Linked DNA regions of Homo sapiens: region 2 is linked to region 1. Evidence: promoter capture Hi-C in human tissues and cell types (Jung and others, 2019). All regions are on one chromosome and are shown on one strand. Each heading gives the region's core, a stretch centred on a gene start or on the middle of the fragment in contact. The rest is flanking DNA. Distances are from core to core; before and after follow the strand shown. Region 1 holds the start of OSMR (oncostatin M receptor). Region 2 overlaps LIFR (LIF receptor subunit alpha).

What was found. The method cuts DNA at HindIII sites, captures the fragments that hold promoters and counts their contacts. A contact is called where the count stands out against the background at its distance.
Region 2: a contact is called between a fragment that was not itself captured here and the fragment with the promoter of OSMR in region 1, in 2 of the 25 tissues and cell types used here (IMR-90 fibroblasts and aorta).

The regions. Positions count from the first base shown.
Region 1 is chr5:38,841,004-38,848,576 of GRCh38, reverse strand. OSMR (oncostatin M receptor) reads right to left here and starts at 2,565. Exons shown (of 18, transcript NM_003999.3): 1 at 2,190-2,565. It overlaps OSMR-DT (OSMR divergent transcript), which reads left to right and starts at 2,748. Exons shown (of 4, transcript NR_109951.1): 1 at 2,748-2,909. The HindIII fragment of the contact is 7,742 bases long and covers 56-7,573 here.
Region 2 is chr5:38,535,125-38,542,697 of GRCh38, reverse strand. The region is part of intron 1 of LIFR (LIF receptor subunit alpha); the gene reads left to right. Among named protein-coding and RNA genes, the nearest start is that of LIFR, 18 kb to the left of the region's middle. The HindIII fragment of the contact is 4,458 bases long and covers 2,801-7,258 here.

The sequences.
Region 1 (7,573 bases), core at 1,316-3,815:
CTTCTGAGTGGGAGGAGGGAGGATGGTGATGGCACGTCTACATTTCACTTCACTTCTATATTGAGTGAGAATGAGTTGTTATTATTTGTATTATTTTTAAAACACAAAAATAGAATACAACGTGGAGTGCACAAATGCAGAGCGACCAGTACAACTAAAATGAGGAGGGAAGGAAGGCTATGAAGCCACCAACACAGCTGTTGGAAAAGAAATTCTCTCTTCATGTAGCTACAAAGAAGCCTGCTTGGAGGAGGGGATTTCTCCAGCAAGGCCATGATATTCTATTTGTTTTGGTTTGGGTTTTTTTCCCCCCATTTTACACATTTTTTAAGCAATCAAGAAGGATTTTCTCCCCCAGCGAAAGGAGGGCCAAGGCTCACAGTTCCTGTAAGTGAGCAAGACCACACTCACTAAGATTCTCTTCTACTGCAGCCAATGAATGCCCCAGTCCTTTCCCACAAGGAAAATACACACCTTCTTCTTGTTAAATACAGTACCACTGATTCCCCTTTGAAAACCGTAACAGTTCTCCTGATTCGGTTTTGTCCTCAGGACAAAAGGGTTACAAAAACATGAGAGATCCAGGAACACCTCTGCATGTGTTCCTGGTCTGTTCAGGTTAAAGAAAAGGGTAGAGGGGGAAAGAACCAGTGTTTATGTGTTCTCCCCAATGCGGCTCGGGTCCCTGCGGAAGAAACACCCAAGACCAGCCTTTTTCTCTCAAAGCCACCTTTGATACAAAAGGCTTAGCCACACCTGCTGGGACAAACGGGAACTGGGACCAAGATGTAAGTCACAAGGAGGCAATTTACAGCAGAGAACTAGCTCTTCCTACAATAAAATGTGAGGTGGTGAGCTTCCTGCCACTGGAGGCACTGAACAAATGCTACGGGGAAAACAAACTGAGTATTTCCTGAAGATTCTGAATAGAAGGCTGTGTTTGGAGTTTGATGCTTTGAAAGCTCAAGAAATGATTCTCAGACACAGCGGAGTTTGGGGACATCAAGGGCTCTGAGTGCATTTTAAAGCAGCCCAGGAGAGAGACAAAGCAAGACCATAATGAAACACCCCACCCAGTCTTAGAGTTTGAGCTACAGCACGGTGATCATGAGCAGACTCCAAACCCAAATCCTGATACTGTCACCTGCTAGCTGTGTAACCCTAGAAAAGTTACAAAACCTCTTTGGGCCTCAGTTTCCTCAATAAAATATAATAAAAAACTAGTACCCGCCTCACCCGTGAAGCTTAAATGAGCTAGCATATGTCAAGTGCTTAGAATAGGGGCTGGTTCACAGTAAGTATGAACCATTATTATTTGCAGACAAGGAAACTAAGAGGTGATAAGTAGTTTGACCCATGTTCCAAAGTCAGTTTTAATCTTGGGAATAAAACCTAAAAATTTCTTTCTCCTCCATCAGAATTCCTTCTAGCTCAAACTAAGTATCCTACATTCAATTCTATCTTCTCTGCCTTCATAGACCCTTCCATTTACTTCTCTTGAATATCTTGTTCCCAAAGTGTTTTCAAGGCAGGTCTGTTACCAAGCCACTCCATCAGCAGCACCTAGCACTGTGCCTCCCGCAGCAAGGCAGGCAGGATGGATGGACGGATGCAGGCATGCATGGGTAGGTGGATGAAGGGCAGATGAAGAACTATCGAGAAAGGAATCGCGGTGTCAGGGGTAAAGCCCTGGCCTGCGAGAGCCGGGCTCGGATTTCAGTGCCCTCACAGCTAGCCATATGGCCTTGGACAAGTTACTGAACCCCTCCGTGCCTAGGTTTCCAGAATGTAGAGGGCCACTTCCACTCAAGTGGCTGGAGAAGAAGGTAAGCGCCCCGGACGGACGCTATTGCAGAGTCGCCCGGGGATTCCTCTCTCCACCTGTGCTTGAGCTCCTCCCGCTTCTACGCTAGGGACCAGGTGGGAGAGATACACGGATTCCCAGAAAAATGGCTCTCTCAGGTGGGAGTCAAGGGTTACGAGAGGAGAGGTAGGGGAAGCAATGAACTCCTCCACACGATGTGTTGGGAGAGAGGAAAGAGGGATTCAAGTGGGAATTTTCCACTCAACAAACATTCCACCATCATTTGAGAAAAAGGCGCTGGGATGGTGAATTTCAAACAGTCTGAGAAATGGGCGACTCGGCACTGTGCGGCCTGTAAGGAATGAATCATTTAGTTTTCACCCACCAGGTAGGCAGGCCGGGGGCGAGGACCCTCCGAGCGCCGTCCGAGCGCAGGTGGTAGCCCAGCCAAGCAAACGCTGGGCAGAGGCGGCACCGAGGAGGGGAACGGGCTGCTGCACTCCCGGTCGCGTCCAGCCGGGATGGGCTGCGAAGTTGTCGGATTCTTTCCCGCACAGCACGGGGCTCGCCCGTCGGAAAAGCCACCGAGGGCGGCGCAGCGGCAGGGCGCGAGCAGAGCGGGGACGGGCGGGTCGGGGGTACTCACGCCGCGGGCGAAGGGCTCCACGAGCCGGGCCGAGTCCTCGGCGGCGCGTGGGGCGCGGGTGCGGGCTCCGGGGCGGACGTGCAGAGGCGGCCCGGGCCGGGGCTATGAATCAGCTGCGGGGCAAGCGCGGAGGGGCGGGAGTTACTGGAAAACCGCGGGGGAGGGCAGAGGGGTGAGGTCTTTTGCAATTTCCCGTCTTGCTGCGCACTCTTGGCACTCCTGGGACCCACAGGAATTCCCTCCCTTCAGTCCCGGGGGGAGGCGGCCGCGATCCTGGGGGAGGCGCAGCCTCACAACCCGGACTTTGCGGGCGGGCGGGCACTGGTGAGAAGAGGAAGTGGGAGAGGCCTGGGAAGGAAACTTGGAAACCGAAAACTCGGCGGCCGAGGCTCCGTGCCCCGCGCGCAGCGCTGCTCCTGCCCCGGCCAAGGACGCACGGGCCAGCCGGCGGAACCAGAGGTAAGCCGAGTGACCGATGAGGCCTGGGGCTGTGTATCCCACAGGGGCACTTGTCATCCCAACCCAGAGGCCAAACCCGTGAGATCCCCGTCCGAAAATCTTCAGGCAAGAGAAGTCCTTTAACTAAATTTTGGCCGTGTTTCCATTTGGCGTCCAGAGCAACGAAAACGTGTTTGAACCGAATCAAACGGTCCCCATTTTTCCCCTACTCGCGTTCTATCCAGAAACGCCCTGTCCGACAAAGTTTCTTCGGCTACAACAGTCCCGAAACCTTTATTTCCCAATGCTACGACATGCTACACATGGTTTACTTTTCCCCTTAAAAATGCCATCCAATCTTCAACCTTTTTTTTTTTTTTTTTTTGAGACGGCATCTCACTGTGTCACCCAGGCTGGAGTGCAGTGGCGCGATCTCGGCTCACTGTAAGCTCCGCCTCCCGGGTTCACACCATTCTCCTGCCTCAGCCTCCCTAGTAGCTGGGACTACAGACGACCGCCACCACGCCTGGCTAATTTTTCTATGTTTAGTAGAGACGGGGTTTCACCGTGTTAGCCAGGATGGTCTCGATCTCCTGACCTCGTGATCCGCCCGCCTCAGCCTCCCAAAGTGCTGGGATTACAGGCGTCAGCCACTGCGCCCGGCCAAAAATGCCATCCAATCTTTACCGTGTCTGGGCCTTTGAAAGGTGCATTTCACCTCTCTTAGAGGATAACAGGAGCCTTCCGAGGCAGCCTCGGACCGGGAGCTCCCATAGCCTCGCCTGTCTGGATGCCTGACAAATCAGCAGGCAAGGGGCCTTGCTCCAGATCAGCTGAGCCTAGTTTGGTTTGAGTTTGGGGACCCTGGAAAGTATCACAAAAGCAAGGTTGTAGGAGGGGGGTGGGGGAGGGAACCAAGAGTGATCAACAAGTATCGACCATAAACATATCTTAGAATCCTATATTGAATTGACTGGATGACTCAAAATAATGTCAGAATTATTTTAAAATGTTACTTTTGTGTTTGTTCACATATCTGGCTCCTCCCCAATGTCATCCCAAGGAAAGCTGAGAGTCCTTTTGTTTTTTTATTTTTCCTAAAACAAAGGCCTAAAGGCCCTAATACACTTAATACCTAATGGGGCCACAAAGACCATGATGCATAGTAAATATTTGATGATAATAAAATGTATTTTTGTCTCAATAAATGTATGGTCCTTTGCCACACCTCTCATTACTTGAAGAGTTTTAAAGAGTCCATTAGTTTAGCCATCTGCATGGTTATGGAAACTGCCAAGCCCAAGAGTTGGAAAGTCTTTATGATTTTATATTTTACTGAGAAAAAAAATTATTCTTTATAGAAACAGTTAAAAGGGATCTCTCTTCTAGCAAATGAGATGTCAAATAAAAATATTCAGCCCAGTATGAATTTCTAAAAAGTGAGGCTTATTTTGGGCTCCTATTGCAATTGAAGGAGACTGAAGTGTAAAAATTTGGTGCCCACATATAATTTATCTGTTTTTGCACCATTCTAATTTCTTAAATTTATACGTTATTCTAGAATCTAGATGCAGTAGCACCATATAAATTCGCGATTATACCCTTAACAGTGGGTGCACTGGGTCCATAAAGTCAGATCCACCCAAAACCTCCAAATATCAGTTTATTTGGAAATAATGTTTTTGCAGCTTTAATCAAGTTAACCTGAGGTCATATAAGATTAATCCAGTGTCTGCTGTACTTCTGAAAAGGGGGGAATTTGGACACAGACACCCAGAAAGAACACTGTGTGACCACTGAGACAGATCCTGCTTATGCTGACTCAAGCCAAGGAATGGCAAGGTTGCTGACCACCACCAGAAGCTAGGAGAGAGGAACGGAACAGGCTCCCTTTGAACCCCTAAGAAGAAGCTAGCCCTGCCAACATCTTCATTTCAGACTTCTGGCCTCCAGATTGAGAATACATTTCTGTTGTTTTAAGCCACCAAGTTTGTGGTAATGTGTTATGGCAGCCTTAGGAAACTGATACATAGGTTATGTTCCATAAGTTAGTTTTAAACAATTATCCTGAAAATAACTAATAGGAAAAAGATGAAAAATACCAATGGCTTATTAAGCTAAGAGCTAAAATATCCATCCTTGCTTAGTTTTGATAAGATTGTGTGGCCAAGGCACATATTATTCTGCTTCGTTAAACACTCTTTTTATTTTTTTATTTGTGTGTGTGTTTTTATTTTTAATTTATTTATTTATTTATTTATTTAGAGACGGAGTCTTGCTCTGTCACACAGGCTGGAGTGCAGTGGCACGATCTCAGCTCACTGCATGCTCCGCCTCCTGGGTTCACACCATTCTGCCTCAGCCTCCCGAGGAGCTGGAACTACAGGCGCCGGCTACCACGCCCAGCTAATTTTTTTGTATTTTTAGTAGAGACTGGGTTTCACCGTGTTAGCCAGGGTGGCCTCAATCTCCTGACCTCGTGATCCTCCTGCCTTGGCCTCCCAAAGTGCTGGGATTACAGGCGTGAGCCACCGCGCCCGGCCCATTAAACACTCTTTCTTGACGTTCTCTCTTCCTTTTGATTTCAGTAGCAATACTCTCTCCATTCTTCTTTCATTTCCCTGACTTCCTCCTCCCTCATATTTTTGGACTTCTTGTTCTCCACTTGCCCCCTACATGTTGGTGTTTCCCAGGGCCCCAGGGCCCCCTGAATAATCATATTCACATCCAGGATTTCAATGATCACTTGTGCCTTGATGGCTCTCAGCTCTTCCTTTCCATTGCAATGATTTCATCTGCACTCCAGACAGTACTTTGAAATTAGTATGCCCGAATTCAAACTTCAGTTATGCTCACTTGATTTTATTATACTAAGTGAATGGTCCAGCCTTTAACCTTTACTAAGTTAATGGGCCAGCCTTCATTTAGTGTCCTCTGGACACTGAAGTTAAAACCCTGGGAATGATTCTCGATCCATCCTCTTTCATCTTCCATCTTCCATCAGAAAGTCTCATATGTATAACTATTATGGAGGAGGGATTAGTGGAATGTATTGCCAACCTATCTAACTTCTCAGAGGAAAAATAGTTCTATAACTGTCAGGAACATTATATTTGTCTATATCTCTATATCTATGTTTACATACATCTATGAAATCAGCTATGTAAATTGTGAAATATAATTATGATTCTATTTATTCCACTACTGTAAATAGCTATAATTACAAGATGGCAGCATTTTGTTACCAACTGATGGAATTTGAAGGTATCGGGGATTTTGTGAAGAAAGTGACTTCATCACCTAAGCAGTGGATAATGGTTTACAATTACCCTCATCGACAAGTTCTGTAGAATTCTGTTTTGTTGGCATATTATCACATTTGACTCTTTTTAAATGAGACAGGGTCTGTGTCACCCAGGCTGGAATGCAGTGGTGCAGTCTCGGCTCGCTGCAACCTCCGCCTCCTGGGCTCAAGCAATCCTCCCACCTCAGTCCTCCAAGCAGCTGGGACTACAGGCACGCGCCACCATGCTTGGCTAATTTTTGTATGTTTTATAGAGACAGGGTTTTGCCATGTTCTCCAGGCTGGTCTCGAACTCCTAGGCTCAAGTGATTTACCCACCTCAGACTCCCAGATTTCTGGGATTATAGATGTGAGCCACAGTGCCCAGCTGACATTGACATCTTAAAGATTCACTTTTAGGCCTTAACGCGTGCCTCTGTGATTATTATTGGTGGTGATATTGGCCTTATTTCTAAAAAAAAGTTATTGGAAATTAAAATTATTTTGTGGAAATAATTATTTTGTGGAAAGCTAAACAGGTCTTCCAAAAAAAAATTTAATCTGAAATTTATCATAAAGCTTGATTAATTAAAGGACATCTGTTACTGAACTGAACTGGGTCCATTTGCCCACTGTGCAATGGAAAGCCAAACACCAAAACACTCGGTTTTCATAGCATGAAAAATTTATTGCAAGGCTACCAAGCAAGGACACGGGTCTGGCTCAAATCTGTGTCCCCACCTGGCACTTGGGTCAGGTTTTATAGCCAGAGGGTAACAAGGCATGACCTGATTGCATCTTGCAATAAGGTGAGGCTGGGAGGCACCATCTGACTAGATCCTGCCATGAGGTGACACCAGGGCGCAATCTCATTGGATCCTGGATCCTGCCATGTGGTGTCCACTTCTTAATTTAGTGATCCAAGCATTTAGGTTCTGCCCATGGTTGCATTCTTAGTTCATCTGAGCCTCCTCAAGTTACATGACCTTCAACCTGGGGGTCCATGGCAACTAAAAAACAACTCACAGCTTCGCTATATAAATGGTGAACCATAAAGTTGAACCAGCTAATTAACACAGGAACAGAAAACCAAACACTGCATATTCTTATTAGTGGGAGCTAAACATTGAATACACATGGACACAAAGATGGAACAATAGACACCAAAGCCTACTGGAGGGAGGAGGGTGAGGATTGAAAAACTACCTATCAGGTGCTATGCTTATTACCTAGGTAATGAAATAATCTGTACACCAATCCCCTCCTTGACACACAACTTACCCACATAACAAACCTGCACATCTACCCCCTGAACCTAAAATAAAAATTGGAAGAAAAAAAAAAAGTTGAACCAGACTGGTCTGGTGCAGTTACACATCTAACACTTCTAAATATCCAAAAA
Region 2 (7,573 bases), core at 3,780-6,279, 310 kb after region 1:
ACTTAAGCACGGGGCCACTGTGAGGAGGTGCACAGAGATGGCACTGGGGACTTAGGCTGGCATGAAAAAGCTAGAGCCTCATGCCCTGTTCAACTTGGGACCTTTCCCTGTAGGCCAGGGAGAGCCATGGAGGATTCTAGGCATACAAAACTGAATTTGTGCTATGGGAGGATCAGAAGTCCTGAGACCGGTTAGAAGCATTGCCTTTGTGCAGGCTGAGGGAAAGAGGCCCCAACTAGGCCCGACTCTGGAGGTTTGTCCTTATTTACCTGGTAAAGTTGAGGGAGTGGCACAAGTGGTAGTCATAACTAGAGGCATCATGCTGCCTCTACCGTCTTCTATCATGTCCTTTTTATAAAGCTTCTGATTAAACTTACATAATAAAAAAGGATTTGTTATTTAAAGCTCTCAAACACAGATTTATTGATGCCTTACCCTCAAGTTGCTAAACGTTCAAGTGTCCCCACATGTGGGTACTTCTTCTATGAAATAGGTAGTAGCTGGCACTTATGGTGAGATGGGATTTACTAGAGTAAGATTTACATTGAGCAAGAATTTATGATGACTTGGGCAGTAATAAAACCAACAATCATAATTTATGTTTCATGTTAATACTTTGATATTAGATTATCTACTTATTTTTCAAACTAAAATGAATCCTCCAATTTTAATACCACTGGAGGACACGATTTTAGACATTATGTGTCTGATAAAGTGAGAAGACAAAAAAGTAGTCCTTCTTAATATTTTTATGGCCATCTTACAATATTGGCCCAGCTTATTAACCTTTTTTTGTGGTTTTCCCGTGTGTTGCTGCTAAATCATATCTCCTCCCATCTGTATTTGTTCATTTTCTGTGTGTTATTGTTATCAACATTATCATTTCATTTTGGACCCTGACATCCATGCTGAATTTATTTTATTGGATTTATTTATTAGAATCCTATTATTACACCCTGTATATTTGCTATTTTGCCCATTTTTTTCCATCCACAGATAAGTTGGATATGATTCCTATATCTTCATGCAACTCATTAATGAAGATACCAAGAAAAACAGAAGTTTTTGATATCTGTCTATATCACTTTTGTCCAGGTTGACATCATCCTATGAATTAGCACTCTGAGTAAGGTTGATCATGTGATAAAAGCAGCCTCTTCACTCTGTTTACACAGCTTGAATTTCTTTACCTTGCTAATACTCATCTTTCATGTATTAGAAAAGATTTTGTTCAAACAGAGATACATTTTGTTGTTTCTGATCCTTGCTTTTCCCAGTACAACAGCTTATCAAGTCGAGGCTAAGGATGGGCTGACGTGCATGGGTCTGAGGTTTTCTAGGATTCCTTTCTTAGTACTGTTGATCATCTTATCCAGGATCAGTTATCAAGCTCACAGGCCTCTGTGTCTGTAGGATTTTATTTCTTAACAAGAATGCCCCTTTCTGAAATAGCTTTGCCAAATATCAGTTATTTTAGGTGCTGTTATGTTTTTCATATGCTGTTCCACTCTTACATAGAAGATGTTTCACCTGCTTAGATGTTGTAGACCGTGGTCTGAAGCCAGAGCTAAAGGCTTTATTTTAGTTGTTGTTTTGAGAAGCATAATCTAAGATGATGCTTAAGATTTTGATATCTGGGGTTAAATAATGTCATAAAGAAAAAAATTTTGAATTATTTTGGAGTGGAAAGCTTCAGATTCTGACCCTAAAGAATGTTAAGAAAGCATTCAGGCACATTTTGGTCAACATCTGTGCATTGAAATCTAGGTCTTAAAACAGTTTATATTTTAAGATTATTTCAGCAGCAAGACAAGAATTTTTTAATGCCAGTACATTTTGTGACAGGTTAACTGGCTCCCTAAGAACTATATTTGGCTTGCAAATGTATTTTGTTTGGCCCACATAGTGTTTTTTTTTTAATTGGAATTAATTGCCAGCATTTAAAAATAAGGATATTTCATAATAATAATAATAAAAAAAACTAAAAAAGCAACAACCTGGATTTCCTGCCCTTTTGGAAAAACTGGAAGATCTGTGGCTGTACTGGCCGCTCGTCCTCTGTGGTGTAATACAGACACAAGGAGCTGGCGAGGGGCTGCCCGCCAGCCTGTGTCATGTGAATGGCTCCAGTCATTTCATCTGGCTGGCTCTTGGAGTATGTTTGAGTTTGCACCTGCTGAGTTGAGAGCTTAACCAATTAAAAGTGTACTTAGAGTTGGAAGGAGAACAGTAAGATGGCAGTTATTTTCCATTTGTTCTCTGAACATAGACTGTCTGATCTTTGTTATAATGTGATTAGTGGAAGTGCTTGGTAGAGCAGGTGGTGTTTCCCCCAGCAACAGTATTCACCGGACAGGTCGGGGGAGAGCTGAATTTCTAATCACATTGTACATCTACCAGTTTGTTCCTGCAGGTGACAAACAAGGTTTTCTGAAAACAAAACAACCGTAAGTTTCTTATGATACTTAAAGTAGGGAAAGCAGGTGCTGGGTCTTAGTTGTGTAATTTGAGAGCTAAGACCTGAGATGTTAGGTGATTTATCTGCGAGCCCCTACCTGTCACCTATTCAGTGGTAGAATAGGGACTGGAGTCCAGGACTCCTGACTCCAGCTTAGTTGCTCATTTTACAGTTTAGTATAATGGCCTGGAGCTGAGATTTGCAGTCAGAGTTGGCTACAGATCCCACTTTGCTCCTTACTAGCTGTATGACCTTTCTGTGCCTCAGTTTTCTTATTATAAAAAGAGGGAAATAATATGAATAATACCGACCTTATAGGATTGATATGAAAATTAAATCCAATTTTTCATTGAAAGAACTTAGAAAAGTGGCTGCTCCTTAATAAACAGTATTTAAATAATGCATAATATCTGAAATATATGTATAAATTATATTTTACATGGTAGAGTTAGCTAAAACCAGCTTGTTACCTAGATAGAATTATTGTGTAATTAGTATTTTTCCCCCTCCTAGAATTTAGAAAGGCCTTTAGGGATAGTTTTACTCTATGTATTACCCCCCCCAAAAAACCAAAAAAACTTCAATTTGAGCCAGTATTCTTTTTATTAATGAATTTTTGTATAGCAAACAGGTTCATTGAAAAGCATAAAGTTTGTCAGCTTACTCTTCAGAATGTAGACAAATAACTGAATGGTATGAAAATATTTTAAGTCCTCACCGAGGACTCTATTTGAATGGATTTGCTTCAGTCACCAAATAAATCTTGTACGTGTGGTGGATATAAAGCACTCCTAGACTATGGATTTTACAAAGATAAGGCTCTGATCTTAGCTTATAGTGGAAAAGAGGGTGGAAGGAAGGGAGAGAATGATTTCCATAATACCTGGTATGATAAGAACAATGCCTAAAGGGGAAATTGATGTCCAGTGGGAGCATAAACAGAGCACTGTGTCTGGTTGGACATAGTGGTCAGCATGAGAACCAAGAGGAAGGCCGGGCGCGGTGGCTCACACCTGTAATCCCAGCACTTTGGGAGGCCGAGGCAGGCGGATCACTAGGTCAGGAGATCGAGACCACGGTGAAACCCCGTCTCTCCTAAAAAATACAAAAAATTAGCCAGGCACAGTGGCAGGCGCCTGTAGTCCCAGCTACTCGGGAGGCTGAGGCAGGAGAATGGCGTGAACACGGGAGGCAGAGCTTGCAGTGAGCCGAGATCGCGCCACTGCACTCCAGCCTGGGTGACAGAGCGAGACTCCGTCTCAAAAAAAAAAGAGAGAACCAAGAGGAAGAGATGCCCCTAGGAAAGGAGTAGAGGAGGTGGAAGAAGATTGCGGAATAGACGTGTGAATTTTAGTGTGGACGGTTGTCTGAGCTGTTGGTGGGCCAGCCTTCTGATATTTGGCCTGGAGCTTCAAAGAATGATAGGGTTAGTGATATAGATGCTATTTAAAGCTTTGCAACTCACTATGGAAGATGGATTGTGTGAGGCCCTTGCCAGAGGGTTGTAAATTACGTATGCCAGAGAGTGAGGAGGGCCTCAGCCTCCAGAGCAGTAGAAATGGACTGGAGGGAGAGGATGGGGAAAGAGTCAAGGCATGTTTTAGGTAAAAGTGGCAAGTCAGGTGGGAGGTGTGAGGAAGAAGGAAGAGTCAGGGTTACTCAGAAGACACTGGTGCCATGGGCTAAGACGGGGCTACAAGAGAGCAGGTTTGGAGGGGAAAGTGAGCTTAATTCAGTACATCTGGAGTTTTTGAGGAATCTGAAATATCCAAGTGGATATGAAGCATCAGAATATTTTGTCATGCCTGAAGGAACCTTACTTGAGTGGATTTGTCTAAGTAAGCAAGAAATTGTCTAGTGAATGGTTAATCTGTAACTGGGAAGAGGCCAATCCTGGGAACACGGATTTGGAAGTAATTAGCATACAAGTGATGTTATAGCCACAAGCACAGATAATACTGTTCAGTCAGGAAGTGAAGGATAGAAGGAGCAGTAGGCTAAGGAGTCCCACCAAGGAAGCTAAGTAGGAATAGAATCTGAATGGCATCTCAAGTCAGTGAGAGAAGGAATGGATTACCTAATAAGTGGTGTTGGGATAAGTGGTAACCACTTAGAGGGAAACAGAAAAGGTGGGTCCTTGACTCAACTGTACACTGAAATTAATTTTATATGGCATGAAGCTTAAAATGTGAAACACCTTAAATGTACTTGAAGGCAACATCAGGACAATTTGCATAGTCCCGGCATGAGAAAAACCTTTATGGTTAGAAACCACAAAGGACAAAATAGAGAAATCTGATCTAGTAAGAGTTAAACAAAAGACTCACTGGAAAGTAAAAGCGATTGGGGAATCTATTTGCTATGTATGTAACAGAGTTAATATGCATATTAAGATTTTTTTTCTTAGCAATCATTAAGGAAATGATTAATGCCCAATTAGAAAAAGGAGCAAAAGAGAATAAACAGCTTATAAATAAAGCATTGCAAATTATCAATAAACATATGAAAGGATATTTTAATTACGCAATAAAAAGAAATGCCATTTATGGCCCAACAGAATAATTTTTTTTTTTAAAGACAATCCTTGGTATTAGTGAGAAGTACTGGGAAATGGAGATGTTCCTGTTTCTTTTTAGAGATAAGTTTTCGTCATGTTTTCCTGCATGTTAAAGATTTATTGGAGGAATGTTCTTCAGGTTGTTTAATAATAGAGCACTTCATCGTTAAAAGGGAAGAAACAAGTTCATTCGTTTGGTAGACTTTTATATTTATTGAAGACTGTTACATACCAGTCACTCTTATAGCGTAGTTGAAGTGGGATATGAGTAGTCAGATGTTACTCTAAAGTATGATAGCGTGAGTCCCGAAAGATGGAAGAATGGGAAATATAGGAGACATTGCAGGGGGCACTCCATTGGAGGCAGTGGTTTTGGGAGAGGCCTTGAGACCAAAGGGAATGTGGAGTGTTTGGGGAGCTGCTGCGGTATGGAGAGGAAGGGGTTCATGGCCGTCTCGAAGGGCTGTGCCCACAGTATGGAACTGGAACTGTGTGTTGAAACAGTGGAGAGCCTTTGGAGGATTTTAAGCATGGAAGTGATGTATTCAAACTTGTTTTGACATGCTGAGGTTCATAATGGACTGGCTCTTGAATTAACAGGGAAGTCCACACTGCAATGGAGATTACTAAAACTGACATGGAGGATCCTGAAAAAGAAAAACTTTGGAAGACAGTCTATTTTTAAAAGTTCCCAGGAAATGCAAAGGAATTAAGAAAAAAAAATTGACAAGATTATTCTATTTGAATAATAGACCAAAAAGTTATTTTGGGGAATGAATATCCTGCATTATGCACAGTGATAGATTTGTCTTTATAATGTAGCAAATGTTAAATTTCAATATTATTTTCCTACATGCAGAACGCATATTGAAGTATGATACAGTGGAATCCCTAAGCAGCCAAGCTATCCTCTAACTCAGGTCCCCAGACTGTCATAGTTCACAGTGCCCGTCGTGTTTTGTTAATGTTTTTTATGATGCTTGTAGTCAAAAGAATTACCTAACAGTTCTCTTTATGAAATAGCTGGGTCCAAACAATTTAATGAGTATTTATGATCAAGCACTTTAGTAGCAGTTTGAAGAAATAACGTGTATCCACTTAAAAGGAAAAATATAATTGTCCCTCTATCTCTGTGGGGGCACGTTCCAAGACCTTCACAGATGTGAAAATCTTTGGATGCCAAGTCCCTAATATAAAATGGTGTGGTATTTGTATATAACCTGTGCTTATCCTCTCATATGATTTAAATCATCTCTAGATTACTTTAAATCATCCCTAATACAGTGTTAATGCTATGTAAGCAGTTGTTAAACGGTACTTTTTTTTTTACTGTTTTTTTATTGTTGTACTGTTGTCTTTTATTGGTTTTGTTTTCTGAATATTTTCAATCCAAGGTTGGTTGAATCTGTGGTTGCAGAACCCTGGGATATGAAGGGTCTATGGTAGTATTTTTATTTCATTCTTAAAAAACCTTAATTACTGATGAGATGTGTGAAGCTATTGAGTACTGCATAGCTTCCCAAATCTTGGAAACCAGCACCCTCATTTCCATTTCTACATTGATTTGTTTGGGTAGTACTTGTGTTTTATCCCAGCAATTACTAGTCCCTCCCTCTCTTCACCAAAGATAAAGATACGATGTCACACAAAAAAATGTAGCATGAGCAAATATTGAAACTGTGGACTACCTTGAACTAACGGTTTTCAGAGTGTTGGACAGATGTCACTTTATTTCCTTCAAAAACTTAGATATTCTGTGATAGCTCTGTCAGTTTGCTTTGGTGTCTTGGGGTGCCTCAGTGCAGTTTGGGAGCCAGAGCTTTAACTTGGGTTCCTAGTGTTGGCAGTACCTGGGTTAGCATGCAGCCTAACAATGAAAGTATACTGTGTGGGCATATAATAATTTGTGCCTTGGTATTCATTCAGCCAGCTGGCTTAGAGTTTTTGGTGTCTGCTTTGTGCCAGGTACTGCTTGGACACTGAGGGTTACAGTGAACTCGGATGTGTTTGCTCTCAAGGATCTGACGGTCTGTAGGGAGAATTATAAGATTAGGAAGTGAAGCAGTAGAGCAGAAGTCAGCAAACTCTTTCTGTAAAGGGCCAGGCAGTAAATATTTTAGGCTTTGTGGACCATTCAATCTCTATCCTAGCCACTCAGCTCTAACATTGTCATGGGAAAGTAGTCATAGGTTATACTTAAACTAGTGGGCGTGGCTGTGTTCTAGGAAGATTTACAAAATCAAGAGGCGGGTAAGATTTGGCCTATGGAACATGAATTGTGCAACCCCATGACATAAATATAATTAAAGTGTTGTGGAAGCAGCAGCAGATGGCATCTAACCTGTGGACTCTCAGAGGCAATGACAAACATACCTCCTGCTAGGAGCATCACTGCTGACTTGAGGAGGGTGCAGATGAAATTAGCAAGAAGGGAAAAAGGGTGCTGGCCTAAGGAGTCCTGAAGGGTCTGGCAGCTGTGGAATGGCAGCCATTTTAGTGTGGCCCGGACACACAGCAGAGGCAGTGTGCAAGGCCTCTTTCTAGGTTCTGACTCCAGT